Regions from separate parts of the Homo sapiens genome. Here region 2 is linked to region 1. Evidence: promoter capture Hi-C in 16 types of primary human blood cells and fetal thymus (Javierre and others, 2016). All regions are on one chromosome and are shown on one strand. The core of a region is centred on a gene start or on the middle of the fragment in contact, and the rest is flanking DNA. Distances in the headings are between cores, read along the strand shown.

Region 1 (5,088 bases), core at 2,463-4,962:
TCATATGTTATACACAATACACCACATTAAACATAACTTTATATGCCCTACTATCAGCTGATCTGGCTAGTGGACATGTTATATTTTAGATATTTAAGTTAAATATTAATTTTGAGATTGAATTTTTGGGGGAGCAGTACTTACTTTTCTCGGTCCTAAAATTTTTGTAGCAAGGTCCTCACCTGCCCTGCTGGCCATCCCACCTTAGGCCTTTTTTAGGGAGGGAAAGCTTTTGGGTTCTGTCTCCAGTTTACATGTTCCCTGGCCACACAGAATGAAGAATGTCCCGGAAGCATAAGGGAAAGCCAATGAGAAAAGCAGCCTGTGTACCCCCCCAGTTGAGAGCACCTTCCCCATCCACCCACACTGAACTGGGAAAGTGGAAATTGAGACAGCTACCCAGTGAGATTGATTTATGTCTCACACAAAGCTCCACCCACCAGAAAATATATTTGACTACATCCTGTGAAACTGCCCCTTCTGAAGGTCATAGTGGTTACATATCAGCCTTTTCACATGTTTCAACCGAAAAACTGAAGGAGTTCCCTTGAGTTTGAGCAATCTATAGTATCACTTCTCCTGGAAGGCAGAGTGAGAGAAAAGGGGGTGTACTGGTTTCCTAGGGCTACTGTAACAAAGAACCTCAAACTTATTGGCTTAAACTGACAGATTTCTTGTGTCACAGTTCCGGAGGTCAGAATTCTGGGAATCAAGGTATTGGCAGGATTGGTTCCTTCTGACCTGTGAAGGAGAGGCTGTTCCATGGCCTCTTCTTAGCTCTGGGGGGACATTAGTCAATTTGGTGTTCCCTGACTTATAGTTCCGTCTCCCAATCTCTGCCTTCATCTTCACATAATGTTATCTCAGCGTACACATGTCCACGTCCAAATTTTTTCTCTTTTTATAAGTTCAGTCGTAGTGGATTAGGGCCCACCCTAATGACCTTACTTAACCTTAACTTGATCATCTACAAAAGAATCTATTTCCAAATAAGATCACATTCACAGCTACTGGGGATCATTTGAGGGGACACAGTTCCACCATAACAGGGTGGGTAGGGATCTGTGATTTCCTGGCCAAAGGCATTATTCTGTTGCTGTTTGGAATGCTATCAAAATATTAATTATGGTATCACATCTCTGTGCCTAGGAGTCTCTGCTGACTTCTGTTATTGGTCGTGTAAGATCTTACAACCCCAGGGCAACTTTCAGCCTCAAAAGAACTGATGTCAGAGCCAGGGCTGGGGATAATGATATTTTGTTCTGATATAGGCTCAAAGTCACTATTTGAAGTCCTGGCTATAAAAATTAGTTCCAGCAGCTTTCACCTAAAGCTGGCCCAAGTCTGAAATGAACCAAATTGCATGAGCTCTATTATGTGCCCCTCTTGTAATATAAAAATCTAATAAAAGTAAATAGCAAAGTCTAATAGATAATCCTAACAGAGGAGCAAGCACTAAGGTGTGGTAGCTGAGGAACACCTAAGCTTGTGCTATTTGTAATGCTGCTTATTAGATACATCGCTGATCCTCCTGTCAACTCCAGTTAATGTTTCTGTCCCATTCAAGTTGAAAATGTTCAAATTCAGCTAATGTCTATGGCATCTCCTGAAAGCCCATCACTGCTGGGCACTTTTCCATTTTATTGCATTTAATCGTCACAACTCAGAGAGGAAACTTGTTTTGTTAGCTAAGAATCAAATCCTAGACTTGACACTAAGTCCACTGTGCTGGTCCCCCTGCTATTTGATAATATTCCAAAGCAAAATACCCATGCTACCGATGACTGGGACCCCCCAGCTCAGTCACTTGGGCTAGTTTTTCCTGTAGTCTTTCAGGATTGGAAGTAGAGTGGAGTTGTCAGGTCCTGTTACAAAAGTAGACTAACTGGAACTGTAGACTTTTTTCTTTAAACCTAACAGAAGGAAAAGATTGGTGAATCAAAAACTAGCATAAAAACTGCAAAAAACCTCTGGGAAAATAGACGGTCATGAAGTCCATATATGGGAAAGAAATGTAGCCCAGAAATTTCTAGGCATATGAAAAGCACAACTGTAAAACTAAGATGTTTTAGATGGAGGAGAGCTGAGAGTGACAGCTGAGAGTCGTAGATGCTGCCTTGGAAGAGTGTCCACGCTACCCTGGACAGGGGCCTGCCTGCCCACCCAGTGACCATGGCAGGGCAGAGAAAAAGCAATGTCAGCCCAGTATCTTCTCCAGCCAGTGGGGTGGCTTCAGGAGAGGGCTGGGACTGGGGATCTCAACCTTAGCAGCACATTAGAATCATCTGGGGAGGTTTAAAACAGCCTGATACACTTGGCCTCACCTGGAATGCACAAAATCAGAATCTCTATGGATTCAATTCACTATCAGTATTTAAGGCTGCCAGGTGATTCCAGTGTGCTGCCAACAACCACTGAGAGCACACAGCAAGGGAAGAGAGCAACCTGCTGGCTTCTGAGCTCTTTCTCCTCCCAGCCCAAGGGTTAGGGGATTGGGAGTCAGAGAAGTGGCCCAGGCAGATGAGTATGGAGGTGTCCAGCAAGATGTGGACAGATGGAGGATCTGGGAGCCCACATTTCAATGCTAGAGGCCATCTGCCCTAAGGTCCACCTTCCCCTTCTTCCTAATCAAGATCACCAGGAGGCGCACAGGCTGTAACCCCTTCTCCTGGTGTACGATATTAATCACGGCATCTTATATCCCCTGAAGGGGATATAAAGTCACAAGAAAAAATTTCTAGGCATATGAGAAGCACAAACTCTATAAGATACTGACAACAAGCAGACCAACTTTTACCTAACAATTCAGAATAATGCACTATATTAAGGAGAAAAAGAAAAATCAGATAAGAATTACCAGGAACTTTATAGGAAAAAAAAAAGCCCTAGAACTATTATAGGACAGACAAGACCTAAGTAGATAAAAATATAACATGTTCAAATTATTGAGATAACTTACCTTTGTTAACTGTAGAACTAAGGTGTTCATTTTCCACCAGATTATCTACAGTTTCAACAGTTTTAATCCAAAAGTTAAAATTTTTTGAGGAGCATGACTAAGTGATTTTAAAATGTTTATGGGAAAACAAAAGTTCATTACACCCATAGCTTGTATGTGGACAGGCCAAGGAAAGAAATCAGGGCTTCTGTCTCCCAGTCTGGTGCTAATTTCACCCCACCTGTCTACAGCCGTGAACTGCATTTTAACAGCACATAAAGAAATATACTGCATGCAATGCCGCTCCTCATATCATAGAACAATTATCTTAATCATAGGAAAGCTTAGAAGTTAACACATCAGTCTGAATGGCATCATAGCTCATCGTTTGTCCCTTTGACAAAGAACTTTTGTAGCGAATGCCACTCCAAACACACAGGGGCTAAGGCAAGGCTGTTACCGCAGTGGGAAGAGGGTAGCACTCTGTGTAAGCAGACGTGGCCAGCCCAGCCGAGAGAGCCCCCCTTTGCTGACTACCTCCAAGAACGTGGACACCTACAGTGCCGCCCAAGCGCCAGAGCGAGTCCCGGCAATGTGTGCCAGCTCCTTAGTGCTGCTGTAGCAATGACTACAAACTGAAATGACACCTCTGCTGTTGGCTTAAAACAACACAAATTTATTACTTACAGTTTTGGAAGTGAAAAGTCCAAAGTTGGTCTCACCAGGCCAAAACCAAGGTGTCAGTAGGGCTGCGTTCTTTCTGGAGGCACTAGGGAAAAAATATGTCACTGGCCCCTCCAGCTTCTAGAAACCACCTACACTCCTTGGCCCACGGTCCTTTTCCTGTTATCTTCCAAGGTAGCCAGTACAGATTGAATCCTGCTCTTATTGAATCACTTTGACCCAACACACCTTCCTCCCTCTTCCACTTTTAAGGAAATCTGTGATTACATTGGGCCCACCTGGATAATCCAGGGCACTCTAATTATTTCCAGCTCAGCTGATTGACATCTTTAATTCCCATCTGCAACTTTAGTTTATCCTTGCCATATAACACAACATATTCACAGCATCCAGGAGTTAGGCGTAGGCATCTTTGGGGACCATTATTCTGCTGATTACAAAATGCATCAGATTCAAACATTTAGCAGGCTAGAGCTAACACCTTCCTTATTACTATCACAAAATGTAGAAAAGCGGTGAATATATCATCGGGAAGTTTGCAGCTTATTTGGCTGGATCCACAACTGCCTTTCATGCCCAGAATGTTGCTAAAAGGAGAGTCTCTCTCCCAGTTACTCTACATCCATCCTGCCCTTGTAAAGCCACCTGGAAAACTGAAGCAATTTTTCAGAAATCCCTGTTTCCATTATATAAATATTCCGTGCGAAAGTGTTCTTTTGGTCTGACTTATTCTAATAAATGCTCCCATTTAACATGCATATGTGTAATCCAGCAAATTAACTTCTCCACAGGATATTAAAGTTAGTGTGTTTTGTGCTGTATGTATCTGTGCATGTACTATGTTTGAACCAGAATATACAATGTATCAAGGAGCTCATTCTTTATCTTTTTCCTGCATTTTCTTATAAACTATTTGGCTGATTAGATTTTTACTGTGACTTTTGTTTCTTATGTCTTTTAAAATTAGAAATTACTGCCATATTCTCTAGAAAAGTACTATCCAGAAGAAATAGAACTATGAAGATATGAAACTGGTTTTACTAGGAAACACACATATACACAGACACATACACACAAGACATAGTGTTTGTACACCCAGGCTCAGTGATTCAGAATCTTTTTTGTGTTGCAGAGTATTGGGATAATTACCTCTTTCCTGAAAAATGTACGTAGTCACATGAACATGAACTTTTGCACTCCTTTTCAAAGGGTTTCTGCCCCATCCTCACCCCCACCCCAGAAATCATCTATAGGTTAATTTGGAGGAAAAACATTCAACATCAGCACAGGTACGGGACACCAATTAGCTGGGAACCATGGAAAGAAAATAAGCATTGTAAGAAATAGCAGAGAAAATTGTAATTTCAAAAAATGTTGATCTTGGCATTGTGCATTAAAGACTTGCAGTAAAACATAACTGGTCCTTAGCATTAAGTTCTTAAAAGATGGTTTCTATAGCCAGTCTT
Region 2 (5,404 bases), core at 1,773-4,272, 900 kb before region 1:
CCAAGGGAAGAGCTTCTGAGGGGAGAAGCAGTTTGGCACACTGGAGAAACAGAGAAGAAGCCCATTGTGGTGCACCAAGTAGCCACAGGATGGAGAGGAGGCTCCAGAGTGGGGACAGAGATCAGATCATGTCAAGATTTGAAGAGCATTTTAAGGATTTTGGATTTTATTCTAAATGTGATGGAAAGCGACAGACATGTTTTACACTGGAAAATGACATGATATAATTTATGCTTTAAAAACCAACAGTCTGGCTACCTTGTGGAGACCAGACAGGAGAGCTCTGGTAGGGAAACCACTGTGGGGGCTATATTATGGTTCTCCAGAGAGCATAACTAGAGGTTAGGGGCACAGAGAGAGAGAGAGAGAGAGAATGTTAAGGAGATGGCTCACTTAATTGTGGGGGCTAGCAAGTCTACAGGGCAAGTGGGCTGGAAATTCCAGCAGGGGTTGATGATGCAGTCCTGAGTCCAGTGGCAATCTGGAGGCAGAATTCTTTCCTCTTCAGGGGACCTAGATCTTTTCTCTTCAGGCTATCAAAAATTGCATGAAGCCCAGCTATGGAGGATAATCTGCTTTCCTGAAAATCTACTTATTTAAATGTTAATCACTCTGAAAAACACCGTCACAGACACTTCTAGATGGGTGTTTGACAAGACAGCTTGACATCACAGCCTGGCCAAGTTGCCATACAGAATTAACCATCTCAGGGGGTATTTCCACCATCAAAGTGAGAGAAGATGGTGGACTAGGGTGATGACTGAGGGGATTGAGAGAAGTGGCTGGAGTCAAGCTTTAGTTTGAAAATAGAATGAGCAAACTTGGTGTTGATTGCGAAAGGGGATAAAAAGCAGGAACAATCAAGATCATCCCCTCAATTTCTGGGGTAAGCAAAGAGCACAGCCCTACCTCATCCATCCAGGCAACTTCAGTGGGTAGGGGAGAGAGATACTACCAGGGAGAGTGGAGAGAGAGGGAAGGAAGAAGGAAGAGAGAGAAAGAAACAGTGTGGGCATCCTTAGGTGCAGAAAAGGCAGGGAAGGCGGGGAGCTTAGCTCAGATGTTGAGAAGCTGATATTTCACCTGGGAAATGCCATGGCAGAGTGAGCAGGGGACATGGCATTCTCCATCAGTGATCTTATACAATAGTGCCCTCAACTCCTACTAAACATGGCCCAAAGGATGTCAGGAAGGACTGGTTCATTGCACTGTGAACCAGAGCAGGAGTGTGAGCTGAGAAGGCTTCCTTTGTGGAAAGCATAGGGAAAATTGTTTCAAAAGGGGGGCAGTCTTAGCTGTGCCAAATGAAGTCAAGAGTTCTAGGTCTGATTTAAATGTTAATCCCATTTGAAAAACATCTTGACAGCCACTTCTAGACTGGTGTTTGACCAGATAGCTTGACATCACAGTCTAGCCAAGTTGACACATAGAATTAAGCATCTCAGGGGTATTTCCACTATCCAGGTGGAAAAGAGCTCATTCAGTTTGACAATGTGGGCATCTCTGGTACCCTTGAGAGTAGCTTTGCTGGTGGTCCCATTTGCAGACGAATAAATTGGGGTGAGACAGGTGAACTATGTAGTCTGAGTTCAAACTCACAACTCAGTTTGCCTGCCTCAAAGACCATGCTCTTAATTTCTTTTTTCTTTTCTTTTTGAGATGGAGTCTCACTCTGTTGCCCAGGCTGGAGTGCAGTGGTGCAATCTTGGCTCACTGCAGCCTCTACCTCCTGGGTTCTAGTGATTCTCCTGCCTCAGCCTCTCGAGTAGCTGGGATTATAGGCGTGTGCCACAATGCCTACCTAATTTTTGTATTTTTAGTAGAGAGGGGGTTTCACCATGTTGGCCAGGATGGTCTCAATCTCTTGACCTCGTGATCCACCCGCCTTGGCCTCCCAAAGTGGTGGGATTACAGGCGTGAGCCACTGCGACCGGCCCATGCCCTTAATTTCTGTACATGTTTCCTCCCTCTGAGAATGAGCACAGGGTAGAGTCTTGCTACCTCTGCCCTGATTTTATGCCCTTTATGTGTTGTGGGTGGTGGAGGGCTAGTGCTCTGATCCTGGATTTTAGCCCAGATAAAGAACTGAGTTTTCTGAGAACACCTCACATTTCCAATAGTTAAGACTTTTATTAAACTTGTAATATTTGGTAACATTTTCTTAAAGTCTTGGTGGTGGTAAACTATCACTTTATAGCCCCAGTTCTTTATATTCCTTCTTGGTTAGGAGACGCAGGCAATTAAAGCAAATTTATGGAAACAGATTTCATACTTAGCCTTGTAACAAAATTTCACCCCAAACTAAAAACAACCACTTAACCATATGGAAGAGCTAATTTAGTTTCAACCCAGCAATTTTGAAATAAGTACTCGTATAATAAAATTTCAATTATAGTAGTTCTTCTCTAGAACTTACTGTGTATATACTTAAAATTTTGTAATCCATGCTATTATGGTTGATTTAATATTCTGTTATTTCCAACTCATATTAAACTCCTTTTTTGTTTTTTTTTTTTTTTTAAAATTTGACTTCTGGATTCACGTCAGTGACTCTGTAACCATGTTTCTTGTTCCTTTCTTTATATAATGGGTAAAGGGGAGATGGCCTTGGGTAGTCTAATTTGTAGCTCTGGCAGTGATGTCTTTTTAACCCCCCAGAATATATTTAAGAAATATGCATGTAAATCATAGTCATATCTAAGGAATAAAAACGATAAAAAGAACAAAGTAGCTGGGGTTGAAACAGAAAAGGCAGACTATCTCTTCCCACTACCCCGTGAATCAGATAGATGGATGTGTCTGTGCTTAGGCGACCCATGGTGAGACAGGCAGGGAGGGGTGGGGGGGGCAGGAGAGAGACAGAGAGAGAGATAGGGAGAGAGACAGAGAGAGAGAGAACTAGAAAAGTTCTTTATTAGTATTTCTACAAGAAATACACTAGATGGTTTGGGGTCAAAACCAGTCGGTTTTATATGTGACCCTCTGCACCCCACTTTTAATGTGTTTTCTCTGCTCAGATGGCATTTAAAAAATCATATAACAGTTTCCTTCTAAAACAGACTTCTGGACTTATTTTTTCCTTTAATCTATACCTGCCAGTTTGGGACAGTATTGCCTTCACTTGATGAAAATCTTTGCTATTAATTGAGGATGTAGCTAATATTTCTGTCATAGACAGCAAGGTGACACAGGATTACTTTTCATATATCTCTCATGCCCGGGGAGAATGAACACAAAGGTTTCCCTTTTCAGCACAAGATAGAAGATTCCTAATTTTAATGTCAGAGTGACACCTTAGCGGAGTTTGTATCTGGTTAAAGGGTTGTAAGTATCAGGATAGCCTGTTCTCCAGTACTTCCCGCATGCCCTCTTCATAAGTGGGACCCCTCATCTCCCTTTATCCATCTCTAGGGTGCTCTGAAGGTAGTCAGTGTTTCCCTGTGCATCTGATTTGATCTTTAAAGACCCACAGCACTAATAGATTTATCTTTTCACATTCAAAGCATTCAGCTTATAATAGTTCCCCATTTCATGACTGATAATTTTGTTGTACAACCTTAAATGACTCCAAGCACTGGTAAGGGCACCCTAATATTTTCCTGTGACTTTACCTAATTTCCAGACTCTGAGCAACAGCCTCCATTACACATATCTCCTTGTTCTTTTGGACAATTACATTATGAACGTAGCAGTCAGGACACAGTCAGGAGACAGAGACCACCACTTGTTTTGTTTTAAAAGAGAGAATTTAATGTAAAGAACGGTTAACTAAGAAATGAAAGGCAAAATGAATGAAGTTATTGTGGAGGGATCAAATGCAGGAAGTAGCTACCACTGTTGGGGCTGGGAGAACAAGGAGAAAAGGTGGGAATTGGAAAACCTTAGAAACATGGAAGAGAGATCTCACGGAGCTGAAACCGAGAATTCTGAGAAGGAGCCATTGCTTAGCAGGTACTTGTTTCTCTGAGCTGAGAGTAGGTTTCCTGGCTTCTAAGGCAGGGACACTGGTTGGCCGGTATTTCTGATGGCATACAATGGGGCTAGATGCACAAGTACCGGGAAAATGCACTGGTTCCGTTGATGCTCTGGGAAGGAGCTGCACCTGCTGGTGTAGAGAAGGAAAGCAGGGTGACACAGGAAGCAAGGAGGAAGGAGCAAATCTCTTCTACCTCCTCTAGCCTTGCAATCTCTGTTTAATTCTCCTGTCGGCAGCACCTGACAAGGAGAAGCTGGCAGGAGAATCACAGGGGAGAGTACAGAGGGTGGGTTTGGCACTGAGAGGCAGTGGCCTATTATCTGGCACACTGAGCTATCACTGTACAAATGCTTGTATTTGCAAAGGATTGTTATTCAAATTCTGTAGTTTCAATGCAGTCAGCATGCCACACATAAAGAATGACTGTGATCAAAGTATTTTATCACTTTCAAGTCATGCTTATAAAATGCTCAATAAATGTATTTTTTTAAAGTGAGAATATTTTACTGAACACAAACGGTTTCATCTGGGGACTACACAACCTTATGTGGTGGTTTTAAAATATGTCCACGAATCTTTCAAAATTGCTCCTTCGAAAGATCGTACCTCATGTCCCTCCCCTTCTTAATTTCCCTCCCCTGGCATGTGCGTAGACTTAGTTATTTGCTTCTAACTCATAGAATGTACTGGAAGTCACAGTATGTGACTTCTGAGGCTGGATCACAACAGGCGCTATTTCTGCCTTGCCTTCTTGGATTGCTTTCAACAGGGGGTCACTCATCACTGTGTTTCAGGACATCCAAGCTGCATGAGGAGAGGCTCACGTAGGGGGAAACCGAGGTTTGCAGCAGCGACTCGCCAGGCGTGTGAGTGAGCCAACCTGGAAGCAGATCCTCCAGTTCCAGTGAAGTGTGTGGATGACATCAGCTCCAGCCTTCATTTTGACCACAACTCATGAGATGCCCTAAGCCAGAACCACCCTTGAAGCTGCTTTTAAATTCCGAAAGTGGAAATAATATATTTTATTGTTTTAAATCACTACATTTTGGGGTAGTGATTTGTTTTGCATGCCATTTGTTATGTTGCAATGGATAACCAATACATCTTGACTTTTGGAAACCATGAGGAGGGATCAATGTTTTAAAAAGATTCATTGTCCTCATTTAGGTAGTCACTATTATTATTTCTTAAGGGAGTATGCCTACCAGGACTATAACATTTCCAAGGAAGTGTTTATGAATACAGCACTGCCATGGATATTTAAAAGCAAGCTTGTGGATTCCACACCAGCTTTGAAATAGAATATCTGGCACCTAGCAGTTAGCATAAGATAAAAGGAATTATTTCCCAAATAAAGCCATATGTTATTGCTATCATCATCATCATCATCACCATCACTGCCATTAAACATCTAGGTGCAGATAATAC

The links. The method cuts DNA at HindIII sites, captures the fragments that hold promoters and counts their contacts. A CHiCAGO score of 5 or more calls a contact.
Region 2: a fragment that was not itself captured here is called in contact with the fragment with the promoter of HTR2A-AS1 in region 1 in 8 of 17 cell types (naive B cells, M1 macrophages, megakaryocytes and 5 more); the score reaches 8.7 in naive B cells.

What each region holds. Positions count from the first base shown.
Region 1 is chr13:46,850,764-46,855,851 of GRCh38, reverse strand. HTR2A-AS1 (HTR2A antisense RNA 1) reads right to left here and starts at 3,712. Exons shown (of 2, transcript NR_103752.1): 1 at 3,626-3,712. The region is part of intron 3 of HTR2A (5-hydroxytryptamine receptor 2A); the gene reads left to right. RefSeq lists an enhancer at 498-617. The HindIII fragment of the contact is 4,589 bases long and covers 3,284-5,088 here.
Region 2 is chr13:47,746,791-47,752,194 of GRCh38, reverse strand. No RefSeq gene overlaps it. Among named protein-coding and RNA genes, the nearest start is that of LINC00562, 180 kb to the left of the region's middle. The HindIII fragment of the contact is 4,454 bases long and covers 796-5,249 here.